Regions from separate parts of the Homo sapiens genome. Here regions 2, 3, 4, 5 and 6 are each linked to region 1. Evidence: promoter capture Hi-C in 16 types of primary human blood cells and fetal thymus (Javierre and others, 2016). All regions are on one chromosome and are shown on one strand. The core of a region is centred on a gene start or on the middle of the fragment in contact, and the rest is flanking DNA. Distances in the headings are between cores, read along the strand shown. Region 1 holds the start of MTDH (metadherin). Region 2 overlaps ATP6V1C1 (ATPase H+ transporting V1 subunit C1). Region 3 overlaps KLF10 (KLF transcription factor 10). Region 4 holds the start of AZIN1 (antizyme inhibitor 1). Region 5 has its middle 7.2 kb from the start of GASAL1. Region 6 holds the start of SLC25A32 (solute carrier family 25 member 32).

The links. The method cuts DNA at HindIII sites, captures the fragments that hold promoters and counts their contacts. A CHiCAGO score of 5 or more calls a contact.
Region 2: a contact is called between a fragment that was not itself captured here and the fragment with the promoter of MTDH in region 1, in 3 of 17 cell types (naive CD8 T cells, non-activated CD4 T cells and activated CD4 T cells). The highest score is 5.4, in naive CD8 T cells.
Region 3: a contact is called between a fragment that was not itself captured here and the fragment with the promoter of MTDH in region 1, in 4 of 17 cell types (fetal thymus, naive CD8 T cells, activated CD4 T cells and 1 more). The highest score is 7.6, in fetal thymus.
Region 4: a contact is called between the fragment with the promoter of AZIN1 here and the fragment with the promoter of MTDH in region 1, in 3 of 17 cell types (naive CD8 T cells, total CD4 T cells and non-activated CD4 T cells). The highest score is 9.5, in naive CD8 T cells.
Region 5: a contact is called between a fragment that was not itself captured here and the fragment with the promoter of MTDH in region 1, in 1 of 17 cell types (fetal thymus). The highest score is 6.2, in fetal thymus.
Region 6: a contact is called between the fragment with the promoter of SLC25A32 here and the fragment with the promoter of MTDH in region 1, in 5 of 17 cell types (total B cells, total CD4 T cells, non-activated CD4 T cells and 2 more). The highest score is 8.7, in total B cells.

Annotation. Positions count from the first base shown.
Region 1 is chr8:97,642,834-97,645,533 of GRCh38, forward strand. MTDH (metadherin) reads left to right here and starts at 1,351. Exons shown (of 12, transcript NM_178812.4): 1 at 1,351-2,054. The coding sequence starts at 1,674. RefSeq lists silencers at 939-1,048, 1,229-1,688, 1,959-2,028, 2,312-2,480 and enhancers at 1,201-2,181, 2,182-2,700. The HindIII fragment of the contact is 3,502 bases long and covers 566-2,700 here.
Region 2 is chr8:103,022,993-103,025,754 of GRCh38, forward strand. All of the region lies in intron 1 of ATP6V1C1 (ATPase H+ transporting V1 subunit C1), which reads left to right. Among named protein-coding and RNA genes, the nearest start is that of ATP6V1C1, 3.3 kb to the left of the region's middle. The HindIII fragment of the contact is 2,711 bases long and covers 135-2,762 here.
Region 3 is chr8:102,649,771-102,652,474 of GRCh38, forward strand. It overlaps KLF10 (KLF transcription factor 10), which reads right to left. Exons shown (of 4, transcript NM_005655.4): 2 at 2,394-2,627; 3 at 1,379-2,291; 4 at 1-621. The coding sequence ends at 362. Among named protein-coding and RNA genes, the nearest start is that of KLF10, 4.6 kb to the right of the region's middle. The HindIII fragment of the contact is 2,517 bases long and covers 131-2,647 here.
Region 4 is chr8:102,862,787-102,865,486 of GRCh38, forward strand. It overlaps AZIN1 (antizyme inhibitor 1), which reads right to left and starts at 1,377. Exons shown (of 12, transcript NM_148174.4): 1 at 1,021-1,377. It overlaps MAILR (macrophage interferon regulatory lncRNA), which reads left to right and starts at 1,485. Exons shown (of 3, transcript NR_126339.1): 1 at 1,485-1,837. RefSeq lists enhancers at 1-254, 1,723-2,455 and silencers at 604-833, 1,494-1,843. The HindIII fragment of the contact is 10,250 bases long and covers 1-2,700 here.
Region 5 is chr8:102,812,882-102,815,581 of GRCh38, forward strand. No RefSeq gene overlaps it. Among named protein-coding and RNA genes, the nearest start is that of GASAL1, 7.2 kb to the left of the region's middle. RefSeq lists enhancers at 988-1,087, 1,098-1,147. The HindIII fragment of the contact is 925 bases long and covers 891-1,815 here.
Region 6 is chr8:103,413,736-103,416,435 of GRCh38, forward strand. It overlaps SLC25A32 (solute carrier family 25 member 32), which reads right to left and starts at 1,372. Exons shown (of 7, transcript NM_030780.5): 1 at 1,049-1,372. The coding sequence starts at 1,202. DCAF13 (DDB1 and CUL4 associated factor 13) reads left to right here and starts at 1,651. Exons shown (of 11, transcript NM_015420.7): 1 at 1,651-1,781. The coding sequence starts at 1,712. RefSeq lists enhancers at 1,038-1,659, 1,393-1,732. The HindIII fragment of the contact is 9,226 bases long and covers 1-2,700 here.

The sequences.
Region 1 (2,700 bases), core at 101-2,600:
TTACCCCTGCTGTATTCCTTGAGAAAGCCTGTATTTAGTTCACTTAAGACAGTTGCTTACACGCTAATGATCATTTACCGATAAAATACAGAGTTTCCTTATAGCAAAATATAATCTTAAAACCCTAAGGCAGCCTTCAAGCATTTCCCTTATAATTAAAACCTGAAGGCCTGGCGTGGTGGCTCACGCCTGTAATCCCAGCACTTTGGGAGGCTGAGGTGGGCGGATCACGAGGTCAGGAGATCAAGACCATCCTGGCTAACACGGTGAAACCCCGTCTCTACTAAAAATACAAAAAATTAGCCGGGCGTGGTGGTGGGTGCCTATAGTCCCAGCTGCTCGGGAGGCTGAGGCAGGAGAATGGCTTGAACCCAGGAGGCGGACCTTGCAGTGAGCGGAGATAGTGCCACTGCACTCCAGCCCGGGCGACAGAGCGAGACTCTTGTCTCAAAAAAAAAAAATTTGAAAAGGCAGTTCGTTTCCTTCTATAGCTGCATCCCAGAGATGGTCAACATAGCATATAAAAATGGAATTTTTGCAAACCCCTTTTGCAGTGTTGTAGAAAAGCTTAAAATAAAACGTAACGAGAAAGCTCCCTCCATAAGTAAATACAATCTAATGTGCTTCCCCTTATGTGTTATTAAAGCTACAAATTAGTAGGAAAAGAATAGTGCCGCCCACGGGCTTTCCAACTTTTGAATTCTGGGGACTAACAACAGAGAGCAAGAGTGAATGAGCCAAACGACGCAAACGTGCCCTCGCCAGGCTGGCAACTGGTAGGCACGCAGTGTATTAGTTGCCCTGGAGAGAAACACCCTGGAGAGAAATACCCAATTTGTGAACTAAACCTAGGTCCCGGAAGAACAGTGTTCGGCGTCAGACTCCGTTGAGCTCATTCTGGAAGGATCCAACTGGCGCCACCAGGGAGAAAAAGCGATTCCACCTCAATAACACTCCAGAAAAAGGCATGAAGAGCCCTATACCTGCCAGGGCGACTTTGACCTAGACCCGGTGACCCGGTTCCTAGCGCTGCAGCCCTACCCGCCCCCCGCCCGCCCCCGCCTTGCACGGAGCCCCTCCTCTGTACTCATTCGTTGCGCCACGTCTCCTAACTCTGCGCCACCAGCCACCCCGCGAAGGCGTCCACCAATTAACCCCTCCCAGCTTCTGGTCTACAGTAACGGGTCCCCAACGCCGCGTCTTAACCAGGCCCGAACCGACCACCGCCAACCTTCCCTGACACGCCTTTGCCCCACCCGACCCCGCCCGCCCCCACGTGACGCCCACGCCCCGCCCACTGGCGCCCACGTGACCCACGGTCGTCCCCGCGCGCGGCGTGGATCGCGGCCCAAGCCGCCATTGTTCCGCCGAGGGAGGACAGCGGGGCCTGGCGCTGGCGCCGAGACGCCGCTTAGCGGCCGCCACTGGAGACACTCCCTCCCGCCTCCCGGGTCTCCTGGCGGCGGCGGAGTGAGGCTGACAGCGGGGAACCTGGGAGACCCCTCCGCCCTCCCCGCGGTGGCAGCGGCCGATCCCCGGCTCCGGCGCGAGGGACGGCCGCGATGCGCTCGGCCTGAGGTTACCCGGCCCGGCCCTTCCTCGCTTCCCTCGACTATTCCACTGCGTCTCCGCGCCCCGGCGTCATCCTGCGAGTCCCTCTGACGGGAGGGAAGATGGCTGCACGGAGCTGGCAGGACGAGCTGGCCCAGCAGGCCGAGGAGGGCTCGGCCCGGCTGCGGGAAATGCTCTCGGTCGGCCTAGGCTTTCTGCGCACCGAGCTGGGCCTCGACCTGGGGCTGGAGCCGAAACGGTACCCCGGCTGGGTGATCCTGGTGGGCACTGGCGCGCTCGGGCTGCTGCTGCTGTTTCTGCTGGGCTACGGCTGGGCCGCGGCTTGCGCCGGCGCCCGCAAAAAGCGGAGGAGCCCGCCCCGCAAGCGGGAGGAGGCGGCGGCCGTGCCGGCCGCGGCCCCCGACGACCTGGCCTTGCTGAAGAATCTCCGGAGCGAGGAACAGAAGAAGAAGAACCGGAAGAAACTGTCCGAGAAGCCCAAAGTGAGTATGGGATGAGCGGCAGTAGAGAACGGGCGAAGGGCGGGCGTGGAGACCCTCGAGCTTGGGGGAGGCCGCGCCCCAGCCGGGAAGGAAAAGAGTGCTTAGTCGAAAGCCGAGAGGCAGCACTCCCAAGTGGAGGAGGAGGTGATAGGTGGTCATGTTATTTGGGGAATGGGGGGAACTCAGGAAGTATAGGACGAGTGGGGAAGCCCAGTTTCGAGGAAGGAAGTTAGGAGGTCTGGGGGTCCGTTCAGATAGGCGCCCAGAGGTCAAGCCATCTTTGGGAACCGTCACCGCTAGAATAAGCACAGCATCCTTCCTTGAGGCCTGCAGAGTAGGCTGCATGTGGAGCGTAATGGGACCTTAAGGTGGTGTTAGGAAGTTGTATAAAGACTGCGCTCGGAAGACAGATGTCTATCTCAAGTCACATTGAGACAGTAGGCAGTGGAAGAAGTGCGGTGACCTAGAAATTCTGGGGCTTACACAGGATTAAAGGTGTCCAGGTCTAGACGCGCTTCCATTTTAGTTGGGACTGTTAAAGGGAAATGGTTGCCCATTCTTGTTCTGGCAAATGTGGCCAACAGAGGCCGGAACGGGAGCAAGGCAAGAGGGGGTCGGTTACCTAATACGCTTTGAGGTGTATGGT
Region 2 (2,762 bases), core at 240-2,739, 5.4 Mb after region 1:
CAGTGAGCTGTGATCATGCCACTGCACTCCCTCCTGGGAAACAGAGCTAGACCCTGTCTCTGAAAAACGAAAAAGGAACATTTCAGGCTGAAGCAACAGCGTATGTCAAGGCCCTGAAATGTGAAGAGGAAGAAAGCTTTTCAGCCTTTTTGAAAGGCTAGCATGGCTGAAACGGGGAGGGAGAGAGGCAGGTGGAGAAAGCTGGGGTCACGCCAAGCAGAGCTTTTATTCTAAAAACAGAGGGAAGCCAGTGAAGATTACAGGCAGTGGATTGAGACAGGTTGTGGCTTTTTTTTTTTTTTTTTGGTGGGGGGGAGATAATGTGGAGGGTGGCAAAAGTGAATGAGGGGAGACCCGCTCAGGGGAACATTGTTGTAATCCACTGAAGGATTTGAAGACAAGATACCTTCTCTCTCCACTGAGGACTTCAGAATGTTTAACTGTATTCACTTTTAGAGGGTTCAGGACTTGGGGAAGGGAAAGAATGATTCGATTCTATTTGTACCCTTCACAGGGTAGTCGTAACTACCCTCGAGGCAGTCCTGAAGTACATAGCAGAGGCTCTTTTGCAAAAATTTGTTTTGGCTTTTCAAATTTATCCTTTTGTAAGGTCATCTATTTCAGAATATCTTTTATTGAAATATAGTTACAGGGAGGGATCACTTTCATATTTATTTTGTTCTCACAGTTCTTTGAAAGACAGTGGATGAAAATGCTATTCATTGTATAGATGGGAACCTGGAGCTAGAGAAACACGTAAAGTGATTTGGCTGAGTCCGGAGTAACTGCCACAGTTTTCTGACTGCTGATGTATTCCTGCTGATTACCTACACAGTACTAACCACAGTCACATCTAGAGAAAAGGGCGAGTTTTTTGAAGTGCACAGTAGTCTTTGATTCAGCATTTTTTTTTGGGGGGGGGGAACTTCTCCCTGAAGAGTCAGCACTTTTGATGAACTTTTTCTAGTAGAACAGCTTCAAAGGAATTGGCAGTGGTGGGCTATGTCTTATCTATAATCTTGGATAGAGCTGTTCAATTTACAGTTCATCTGGAGGAAATAATGAACAATAAGGTGAACTGAAAGTGCTCAGGTTGTCAATCACAGTTCTTTGGCAAAAAGTGAGTCTCAAATTATGCTGAAGACTGAGCCTCAGGGTTCTGTCTCAGAAGTCCTGGATCTTTTTCTCTTTTGGTATACCTTGTAGGGACTAGATAAAATCTAAAGAAACAGTACTCAGGATCTAACTAAATGCTGAGAGCTAGATAGTGTAATTCAGCTTTTAAAACTTGGCACAAAATACTCATTTTTATTTTTTTGGTATATTAGTCTTAGGAGCCTCATGTACATTAGTTTTTTCAACCTAAAAAGAAACTTCAGGGCTTCAAAAATCTGATTTTGTGATTATTTCCACAACTCACGAGATAATACCATTGGCCAACTGGAATGCCAAAGTAAACCTTTGCCAAAGGTCTCCATGTAGTTTACCCGTCCCTAAGCAGCAAGTCTTCTTTTGAACTTGGTTCTGCTTAGGAGTACTACAGTTTTGACTGAGTACCTCCTACTTAAAATTTTGCTCTTGTACATATTTAAATCTGTCTACAGGTTACATCTTTTTCACTCTTTGGGTGTGGAATTATATATCATTTATAAATTAATTCATGTTAGATTTCCATTTTTCATCAATTTTTAAAGACAGACATAGTATAAACATTAGCATAGTGCCCTTGGGACGCTTAGGCAGTGAACCAAGGCAGTCTAAAATTTCCTATTGACATGAGTGATTCTTGGAACTAGAAATTTCAAACTATATTCTTGATGCTGAAACAAAATTTTTTATCCAGCAGGACATCTACTTCTAAGATTATACCATGTGCAAATGTACTATGCGTTTATTGAGTTAAAAAAATGAGCCAGGTAGGCAGTGGAGGAGAGGTGCTTTGGTTACTATGCATTTATTGAGTTAAAAAATGAGCCAGGTAGGCAGTGGAGGAGAAGTGCTTTGGTTACATCGGGGATAAAAGAGTATTAACTGTATATCTAAAATGTGGGGTGTGTGTGTGTGTGTCTGTGTGAGTATGTGTGTGTATTTGAAAATAAAATGCTAGGTAAGTGATGTTTTATAGAAAGGGATCGATGGATCTTCTAAGATATTTTAAACAGACTATCAATGAATAGGAAGTTGTAAATTAAGGCGTGTTAACAGGTGGTTTAACTTTACCATGAAAGGTTTTCCTTTTGAATCAGCCCATAGTTTAGTGTTTCTATGTGGGTGCTATTGGCAGTTTGGAGGTCTGTTTCGCCCCTACCCACTAAATGCTGATTAGCGATCTCCACATTGGGACAACCCAAAATGCTCCCATACATTTCCAGACTCCTCCTGGAGGAGAGAGGCACCATTTGGTGCAAAACATGCATGTGGTGTCAGTTTATTTGTTGGACAAATATTAAGATGTTGAGGTTACAGAGGTTAAAAGTAATATTTTAATAAACTGCATATAATGGAATTCAAGTAATTTAAAATCTAGTGTTTGATGTTTTAATGTAACTCCTTTAGTGTAAAATTACTGAAACTATATCCTAATATTTCTTTGAGGCACTTGTCTTTTGTAAAACTGCATGAATAACTCAAATAGAGTCCCCTTAATCCCAATAAAATGTAGTCACTAAATGTCTTTGGGCAACTAATTTCACCAGCTGTTCCCTCATTTGCAAGTGGGGGTGGTGATAACACATCTTGTGAGGGAATTAAATACAAAATTG
Region 3 (2,704 bases), core at 139-2,638, 5.0 Mb after region 1:
AATCACATTGAAAAGTTGGTCTCAAGTATAAACAGCAAAAGTAAAGTAACAAATATGCACACAGATTCAAAATCTGTGCTACCTGTGTTGACCTCATCTGAAACCTTCAAAAAATATTCAAAGGAATAAAAGCTTTCTCATCTCTCTTATGTGATAAGAAATGAAACCTGCCTTTCTGTGACCTGCCTGTGGCCGAAGCCCTTTTAGTCACCTAACCCAGGCGGGGCCTTCGTGCCAGGCTGTGGGGCTTCTGCTTTAAGCCCACGTTGTGGGGCCACAGACTTGCAGTGGAAGCATTTTTACATCACCACTGGCTCCCGCTGAGACCAAAGTTAGTTCTGACTCTTCACTTTCCGGTCTGTCACTGTGTGGGAGCAGGGGTTGGAGGTAGAGCAATGTCATTTAGCTTGCTCACTTCCATCTGCCAGTTTGGTAGCTTCTTGGCTGATAGATGGCGCCGGGCATGCTTGGTCAAATGGTCACTCCTCATGAACCGCCGGTCACACATGGGGCACGCAAATTTCTTCTCACCCGTGTGGGTTCGCCTGTGTCTGGACAGTTCATCAGAACGGGCAAACCTCCTTTCACAACCTTTCCAGCTACAGCTGAAAGGCTTTTCTCCTAAAACAAAGACATACAAATCATTATTATGCATAAGATTGCCGTAAATTATATGTTCAATTCTGTCTAAAAGTATATGAGAAGATACATTTTAAATAATAAAAGCTAATAAATCAAACTGTCAAATGAATATGAGATATGTATTGCTCCAATTTCAACTTGTCACTTGATCACATTTACAAAACTCTTCCCCACATGAAATAAGGCAGCCGGGTGGAGTAGTAGGCACCTGTAGTCCCAACTACTCAGAAGGCTGGGGCAGGAGGATAGCTTGAGCCCAGAAGTTTGAGACCAGTTTGGGCAACAGAGCAGTTTTTTTTCATCCCTTAAAAAAAGCCAAAAATGAAAAGACTTCCTGACTTTAACTATGATTCAAAGGCTTTAAAGATACCTTATTAAAGTAACTACTCAGACATCTACAGAATCATCATTTGAGAGACTGAAACAAAAGCACATCAATAAAGTATTTACATACTTATTTTTAAATTATTTGTAGAGATGAGGTCTCAGTATGTTGCACAGGCTGGTTTTGAACTCCTATGCTCAAACAATCCTCCCACCTTGGTCTCCTAAAGTGCAAGGATTATGGCACTCGTGAGCGGCCTCCAATACAGCCTTTTGGAGGACCTTGCACTGGTAAATACCATCCTCTAAACTAGCTAAAGGCAAGTTATTCCTTATCATCCTGGGTTTAAATGTGTGATCACAGCCAAAATCTCTTCATTTAAACACTAAAGATATAAGAAGTGGCTGGTACCTGTGTGCGTCCTCGTGTGGGCCTTCAGATGGGAACTTTTAAAGTATGTCTTGCCACATCCTGGGTGGCTACAGATGTGACTCCTTATCCTTGATGAATCAATCTGAGGAGTGACTTTTGCTGCTGAAGGGGAAAACCCAGGAGCAGGGGCAATGGGAGAGAGTCTGGTGCCATTCGGGCTCACCACCGGAGGCTTTGAACTCTGCACAACGGGCTGGGGTACCACAAACATGACAGCGCCTTTGGGGACTTGTGTGCCCATGAACACAACAGGGGGGCAAACGGCTGGTGGCTGGCTGGGAGGAGTGCTGGGAACGACTGTTGTCACAACAGGGTTGTTGGCAGGAAGGGGAACCATCTGGCAGATGACCGGCATAGGTGGCACTCCCCCTGCAGATACTGCAGGTGGAGAGACCAACACTGACTTCTGTTGTGGGGACACAGGGGCTGGCTGAGACCTGCAGATGACCGTCTCTGAGGAAGGCACAGAAAAGTCATAAAGTGCAGCACTTGCTTTCTCATCAACATCTGCCACTGTGTTTCTCTCACATTTGGATCTGTTTGGTGACACAGCGGCACATGGTATGTTCTTTCTTGCAGCCTCAACATTTAGGTGGGTTCTTCTTCTAAAAGAATTGTTCTGATAGTTGAGGATGCTGGCTGCTTTCATTGGGCAGGTCTGGTGGTTACATAGCTGGGCATCAGCTGTATGACGAATCACACTTGTTGCCTGAGCTTTGGGGAGTTTGGGGGCAGATACTGGGCTCTTTTCTTCCTCTTTGAAAGGTGCGGCAATGTGAGGTTTGGCAGTATCTGAGAGTGACTTGAAGTGTACAGTAGATGGCGCTGGTGCCATCAGATTTGACACTTGAGAGGGTTCAAAGTCAGAAGGACTGTAAGGTGGAGTCAAACACTAAAGAAAAGGGAAATACATAGCATGAGAAATCTACAGTTTATTATATAAATTTTAAGAAATTATATAATTTACGTCTATCTTAAAAACAATAATACTTACAAATGCTGGGATTGTATGAAAATCAGGTGTTCCCGGAAGCAGATTCTCTTCCTCTGACAAATCAGATACTGGTGTAACAGGTCTGTTTTCAACGTATTTCTTAAAATCAGACTTCCAACTGCAGCTCATTGACATAAGTGCTTCTACAGCTTCAAAATCACTTTTCTCTGCAGTTTTGTTCCAGGAATACATACTCTCTTTTGGCCTTTCAGAAATCATTTCCATTCTTTCCTCCTATAAAAACAAAAGAGGAAAGCTTATAAGCATATTTTTTGTCATCCAAATGACACACAGAAAAATGAGCAAATTTT
Region 4 (2,700 bases), core at 127-2,626, 5.2 Mb after region 1:
ATTCAGTTAAATGTGCTGAAACATGAGGCGGTAAACTGTGTCCCCGACTGTTTCGGGTTTCTGAACCAGCAGCTTTGTCTACGAAACACACATTCAGGATACCGTGTAAGGGTTAGAACATGTTACCACCACCAACTGTTGGCAGTCAAGACAGTAGTTGATAAGCCACCCGTCTACCAATCTCCCTCTTTCTGCCTAGGAACCATGGCGCGGACGGAAAAACGAAGCCATGGTGACTAATCCTCAGGCTCCAGGAGGTGACTGGGGTGAGTGAAGGCGACTTGACCCAATCAGGAGCGCCGCAGGGGCGGAGCAGCAGCCTCGAGGCTTCCAGAAGGGGCCAAAAGCCTCTCGCTGGCTACCTGACACCGGGGCTTCCCCGCCGCCAGGCCCCAAGTGGCGTCAACTTTCCTCCACCAGAGGGGGACCGCGCTCCCCGCGCCCCCCAGGAATCCGACTTCCTCCGCAGCTGTCACCAGAGGCCGGCGCGGGGCCCGCCCCGCTCCATTCATAACCAGGACCCCAGCCGTTGCAGCCCACAGCGCCGCCCGCCCGCCGGGCTTCGGGAGGCAAAGGTGGCGGCGGCGCACCGCGGAGTAGGGGCTGCGGGACCCCGGCCCCTCAGGGCTGCGGCCGGGCCCCCTCCCCGGAAACAGCAATGCACCACGGGAGAGGGGTGGGGGCCGCACGCCGCCAGGAGGGGACGGCGACCCCCGGCGGCGAGACCCCCGCGCGCTCCCCCACTGGCACACGCCCCCTCGCCCCAACTGCTGCGGCTCCGGCTCCGCCAAGCGTCCAGCAGCCGCCCGAAGGTCCTGAGGCGCGGCCCGCCGCCCAGCCCCGCCGCCGCCGCCGCCGCCGGGGGCACAGACAGCCGCCGCCGCCATGTTCGAGGCGGCCGGCCGCGGGGCGCTGCGGGGACGTCTTAAGGGCGGCGGGGCCCAGCCGGAGCCCCCCAGCCGCCCCCCAAGGCCAGCCCCGCGTCCTGGCCCCTCCCGCGCTCCTCGGCTCGGTACTCACGTGAGATAACGGCCCAAAGAGTCGGGTAAAGCGTCTTCTCTTTTTCGGCGGAATTTTTAAAGAGGGATGTGGTTACCTTGAGCAGAAATACCCAAGGCGGCCTGGGCCATAGGCTGCGGGAACGACTTGGGGGTAAAAGCGCGGCACCGACACCAGCTGTGTGCAGCAGTGGCGGCGGCGGCCGAAGGAGAAATAGAACAGCGCAGGCAAAAGAAGAAAGGCGCGGGCTGGGTGGGAAGAGGATTCGGACTCGTCACACTGCAGAGCAGCAGAGCGAGAAAGGATGAGAAGAGGCAGAGAAGGCGACGGCAGAAGAAAAAAGGAAAAACTGCGGCCGCGATCAGAGCCTGAAAGTGTGAGAAGGCGGCGCCAGCGACGCCAGTATTTATATTAGGGGGCGTGGCCTGGTGACATCACAGCTGGCCGGGCAGCCGCGCGAGCGGGGCGGAACCCGGTTGCAGCCCGGAGAAAAGGGAGGGGGACGGAAGAGGAAGGAGGACTGAGCCCGGGAGAGAGAGGGGAGGGGTCGGCGCGCGACCGGGTCATGCAGGTGCAGACTGGCCGGTCGCTTCCCGCCCTCCAGCCACCCGCAGCTCCCCGGCAGGCGAAGGGCGGCCGCGCGGGTGTGGGCCGAGAGAGGGAGGCGGCTCGGCTGGAGCGCGCCGTCCGCCCGACCCCCGCCGCCTCTCGGGCGCCTGCGCTCACGCTGCGGGGCCCAGCGCATTGTGAGCCGGGTCGAGCTCCACGCTGGCAGCGTCTGAGAGCTGTCCTGGGCCGGAGGTGGCGCGAACCCTGTGCGGCCTAGAGTGGGCCTGGGGTAAGCCTGTCGGCGCCGCTGCCGAGCCTTCGCGTCCAGCTCCCTCCGCTTTGTGAGGCCTGTAGTTTACCCTGGGGAGTGTCCTCCCGGGCTGAGGCGCCCGCCCTCGGTGATGCGGTACTCCTTTAGGGAAGCGAGTTCCTCGTGGCCAGAAAGGACCGGCCCAGTGTCCGGGTGTTAAAAAGGGTTGTGACCACGTGAAAATGTCCTCAGTGCTCGAACGTTGCAATACGGTGCAGTGGAAATTTTTTAAAGGAATATGGCTTTTATGTCTTCATTTTTAAAAGGATTGGTGGAGTCAGTCCCAAGCAGGACCCGCGTTGGAGAGGGGATTACTGATGTTACAAGCGCACATTACTTCAATCCCCTAGGTCTCATTTTCGCGGTCGTTTTAATTTTTCTACTCCACAACAGACTTTTTTTTACTAGGGGTTCTAAGATTACCTACATAGCTTTTAATTTATTTTCATCTTTTTTAGATGCCTCAGCACTAATGATCATGATCAGAGACCCCGAGTTCTCTCGTGCTGCTACGCTTCGCAACACATAGCACAAATGGAATATGTGTTGACACACCCCTCTGAAGTTAAGATCTTTGATATTAAGACCCTGACTTTTTTCCCTTTCATTCTTCCGAACCCTCTGTGTACTTTGAGCAGCACTGTGGTTGATTAATAAATCATCAAATGTGAAAGGAAGAAAGCGACCTTCCTGTGTGGAAAAGCAGGGTATCTTGCGAGGCTGTATGAGAGAGTATTCGGTAGAATCAGGAGCTGTGGACGCATTCCTGATTTTGTTTTTCCTTATTTTGCTCGGCTATATCTTGGCTCTGTCTTTTATTTCTTCAAAGTTCTGTTCTATTC
Region 5 (2,700 bases), core at 103-2,602, 5.2 Mb after region 1:
GGGAGAAGAGCGAGACTGAAAAGACCTGTCAGCAGGGTCAAAACAGGGAGCAGGTGGCATGCTCAAGGGTGTGGACAAGGTGTAGGATAGCCAGGGGATGGTCCAGTTCCCGGGAGCCAAAGGGGAAAGGCAAGAGGAGGGAGCGGTTAACCAGACCTAGAGAGAGAGGGCAAGCTAGGTGCAGGGCCCCTTCAAGGGCTCCAGCCTCTGCTGGGAGATTCAGCCCGCCAGAGGCAACTGGACAGGAAATGAGCCCAGGAAGGACTACCCTGACCCCACTATCCTCCCCCAGGCTTCTCCGCTCCACTTTGCTTGACCACAAAGCAAAGAGGCAGGGGAAGCATTGAGGCAGTCTGTGAACATCAGCCTCCAGGTGCAGAGCAGGGTGGATGGTGGGTGGCAGGACAGCTGGAAGCTATCCAGTACCAAGAATGAGGCTGTGATAGCCAACAGGAACAGGAAGGGATGTGATCATAGTCACAGATACCATGACCACAGGCTTGGCCTGGACTGGGTTTGGGCTGGCAGAGAGAGGTCAGAAGCATAATGACCCTTGCAGAGGGAGTGTCATCAAATTAAGTAAAGTTGGGGCCAAAGGACAAAATATTCTAATGTCAAAGCTCAGTGTAAGACAAAGAAAAGGAAGCGCCACCTCACCCAGTCCAAATGGAGGACTATGCCAAAGGGTGATACCTCATGGGAAAATTCACTTGCAAACGGGGAGGATAAATGCATCTCTCTCTCTCTCTCTCTCTCTCTCTCTCACACACACACACACACACACACACACACACACGCACAAAGCTAGGTATCTTAGGAAGGTGGAGGACAGAGACGCAATGTCTCACGTTGGTGAATTGGTGAATCCCTATCTTAGGTGTAAATCAGAAAGCTTCTTGGAGAAAAAAACACATTCAAAACCTGCTTGTAGCTGGTATGTGCCTGTAGTCTCAGCTACTCAGAAGGCTGAGGTGGGAAGATGGCTTGAGCCCAGGTGTTTCAGACCAGCCTTGGAAACATAGTGAAACCCCATTGCTAAAAAAAACTATACAAACAAAAAAATTTGCTTGCAAAACACCCAGCTGGACTCACTGTGGGTTACAAGCACGTTTAAGACTTGGTCTCTGAGAAACCAGTTGACTGCCACCTCAAGATCTTAACTTCTAAAACACAAAAATAGACCCACAAAGTCACAAAGCAATGTTTCTCAAAGCCACAGGGGAACTGCCTCCTACAGATAAAAAGATCCCTGCTTTGAGCCTGAATGAATCAGCCAAGGCCCCCTTTCTTCCAACCAACCAACCCTAACCAGGTAAGCCCACCTCAACAACCTGACCCTACAAAAAACCCTTCCTAACCCTTTTATTGAGTGGCTCCGAAGGCTCACCCAACATGTGGGTTCCTTTGATGCATCAAAGTAAGCAAACTTGGCATTTTGTGGCCATAGGCACATCCTTAGTGGGCCTGACGTCTCCGACTTGAAGGAGTTGGTGGCCCACCTGGAACAGCCATGGCTTGAACTAAACATTTAACAATCCCTACACTTGAGCTGGGGTCTTCTGGAACATCCTCCCAAATCCCCACTGCCAGCCTGTACTGTACTTTGCTGGGGACTTGGAGAGTCAAAGGCTGTTGCTACTGAGGGAGGGGGAGGGCGGTTGGGGGAGGAGGGCTTTGGAAACGGGAGGGAAAGTGAGGCAGGAATCCCTTCTTCCTCCTGGCTCCTCCACAAAGGACTAGGGGCAGGGATGTAGAGATGCAAAGGTCAGGGAACCGGGGACACTTGTGACACTCAGAAGTGTGATAGAACATAAAAGCTTAATACTATGTGAAATCAACTCTGAACAGTGGGAAACTCAGCAATTGTTTGCTGCAACTTCCAAGGCACTATAGCAAATGTAATCCACAAGCGTCATCTAGTGGTACAATCTGTCAGTGTCGGCCAAGCCCTGAGCTCTGAGCGGCAGCTCTGCCGGGTGAGAAGTCTACACTCGGTGCCCAGAGGTCTAGGACCAAGATGGCCAGCCAGCCACATCTGCCAGGGACAGCATTCAGCCTAATTGCCTCGGGCATTCTGCTCTGCAGCGTAGAAAACAAGCCTCGAAGGGAACTCTGAGCTGGGACTATAGGCATGTCCCACCATGCCTGGCTAATTTTTTATTTTTGTATATATATATAAAATATGTAATATATATAAATAATATATATAAATAGATCCCTGCAGATAATATATATATAATCTAATATATATATATAATCATATATATAATCTAATATATAATCATATATATAATCTAATATATAATCTATATATATGTAAAATCATATATATATAATCTTATACATATATGTATAATCTTATATATATATATTAGAGATGGGGTCTTGCTGTGTTGCCCAGGCTGGTCTCAAACCCCTGGCCTCAAGCAATCACCCCTCCTCGCTCTCCCAAAGTGCTGGAATTACAGGCGTGAGCCACTGTGCCCGGCCAGAGCTGGGGATTTTTGGGGCACAGAACAAGCTGTGGTTGCTTGGTAAGTGACTGGGGTTGCGTGGGCATTACAGCTGTTGATGCCTGCCCAGCGTAGCATCCCAGATATGAGGGATATGAAGAGACAGTCTCACCTAATGTGTCGGATCGCCTGCGGTGCCAGCCGTTGTGATGGAGTGGGGCAGGCCTATCTCTCAGGTGGAACCAAG
Region 6 (2,700 bases), core at 122-2,621, 5.8 Mb after region 1:
AGAACGGGTTCTTGCTTCCTCTCCAGCTGTCAAAATATTAGCCCTTCTATGGGAAACCCCAAGCCCCAATCTTCCACTGAACCTTAAAGATACACATGGCCATCAGTAATGTAGAATTTTCTTAACGGTTTACCTGTATTTATATTTTGTTTTTGTATTTCTTGATTTTATGTTGTCTAGAATTACCTTTTATATGACTAAGTCTAACGCCTACAATTAAATTCTAAGTTCCCTGAAGGCAAGAACTTTATTAGATACTTCTGTAGCCCATACAGCAGTCTACAAATATTAAGAGAATATAAATCAAGTGAACTGAATTGCCTAATGCTAAAATAAACAACTTCTGTAGATTTAATTCTCAAGGCTGAACTTAACTTGTAATAACTTTATTTGGAAACTATTTTCTGCAATTTCAGTTATCAAAGATCATCTTTGAAACTCTTTCCAGACTTTAGTGTTGAGTTTAACTTCTAAAATGCTTTGTTAATTTCAACATACTCAATTCATCTAATACACTTAAAATAGTATTTCGATTCTAGCTATTTTTTCACAGAAACTTGTACCATTCTACAAATGCCAAAAAACAAACATTCAAGAGAATTCTATTCTAAATCTACTCCCAACCATTCGCTGAAGATTACGCCCTATCCCAATACTAGTCGAGCTGCCAAACCACGTGGGTATGCTAAGATTTCAAAGTTCCTCCAAGAGTGAATGATTTGCACGTGTGAGGACTAAACCTTAAAATGTGACAATCCCTTCTTTATTTTACAAATCAGGCTTTGAATCCCATCTTCTCTGCCAATGAGGATGTTTTTTCTCAGACTTCTCTACATACATGCCCCCTCTCTTAGTCTTGAGGAGCGGGGAAGATCGCAGGCCGACCCCTCCACCAAGCACCATTTCCTCAAATCTAGTTCAGGTTAGCCAACGCGGACAGCAACGCTCCCTTCAACGCTCCTCCTCCCCCTAGAACGGAAAAGACGGAGGAGATCCAGTTCGGGCTGACAGTGAGAGGATGCAGCCCGGTGTCTGGGCGGGCTCTTACCGGCGAAGCGGATCTTCACGAGGTCGAGCGGATGCAGCGCAAGGTTGGATAAGACGCCGCCGCTCACGCCCGCTATCAGGTTCTCATACCGGACGTGGCGGAATACCGTGCTCCACGCCGACGACCCGGACGCCGACTGGCCCTGGCCCGTCATAGGCTCGGGGCCCGTCGACACCACGGCGCCCAGGGCCGCGGAGGTGGGACGCGATGCAGTGGCCGCCACCGTGGCGACGGTCGCCCCTTGTGAGCGCAACCCCACCTCCGGGACCAACGAGAGGACTCTTATGCCCAAGGCGCGTGAGCGAAGCCGGAGACTCTAGTACTGAGGGGGCAAGAACGGGGCACAGACACTACGTCACGCCGGCGGAAAGCGCGATGGAGGGGAGGTCCCAGCCTCTCCCGAGTCTCCGCCCTGCCTCGCCCACAAATGCTCCAGCCCACGGACGCGGAAGCGACTGCACAGCTAAAGAACCGCCCCTTGCTAACGTTTGCCGGCAAAACTACGGAGCGGCGCAGGATCCAGTTGAGCCAGCAGGCCGCCGCTCCGCGAGTCACGTGACTGGAAGTAGTCTGGGAAAAGCGGAAGTCGCCTGTGGGAGGAGGTGGCGGTGGGCGGAACTCCTAGCGGACACCTCGTGGAGTCCGGCCGGAAGAGCAACCGAGATGAAGGTGAAGATGCTGAGCCGGAATCCGGACAATTATGTCCGCGAAACCAAGTTGGACTTACAGAGAGGTAAGATAAGTTGGTAGGGAGAAAGGGACGGTTTCCGCAAGTCGTTGGGTCTAGCCTCGGCTTTCGCGGAGTAAAGCCGGGGGAGGCTGGCACTCTGGTCTGGTTCTTTCTCAGTTACCTTTCGCTAAGGCAAACTTTGTGCTTACGGAGTCGCTGCGGAACTGGATGGATAGCAAGTAAAGTCTGTTCAAGTCCTTTTTCTAAGAATTTCCTCTAGTGGTGAGTGGGAAACAGTTGTCTATAGTGGAGAAAAATTCCAGCTGCTGCTCTGGGATTGTCTTCAGGTTCCTATTACTGAAAAGTGGACTTGAATGAGCCAAACTCGTGGGTTGAAGGGCTGAGAGTTAAACAGGCTTTTAAAACCTTCCTACTGCTCTTCTTGCCGCTTTACTACTTCACATTAGTTGTGGATGTTGGAAGAGACAAAGATGAATTTAAAAGCATCAGTTTTCTCTTACCATCCCTTAAGAAGTTTGATGAAAGAATGGTTAAATGAAATTAATTTATCCTTCCTGGTCTGTTCCCCCGTTAACATGCTAACCACTTATAAATTGTACTTTGTGATACCTAAATGACAAGGGACCAACCATGCGTAAGCAGATTGTTCTAAATAAAGAGAATAACAGGAGCAAAGGTCTTCAGGCAGGAATGAACCTAAGGCATAGAAAGAAGGGCTGTGTCATTAGTTTGAATGAGGAGTAAGCGAGATGAGATGAGGCGAAAACAGTATTTCACTATTTTGGTTGAGTAGGAGATATTATCAACATGTGTGTGAGCATTGCTAATAAGTCTCTGCTCAAAAGATGTTTACAGTTTGTCACAAGGCAGTAATGTTTCTAAAATATAAATTAGATTTGTCACTTGGATTTGGCATCGTTCCCAGTCCTTGAATCTCTGGTCCCACCTTCCTTGCCACTTT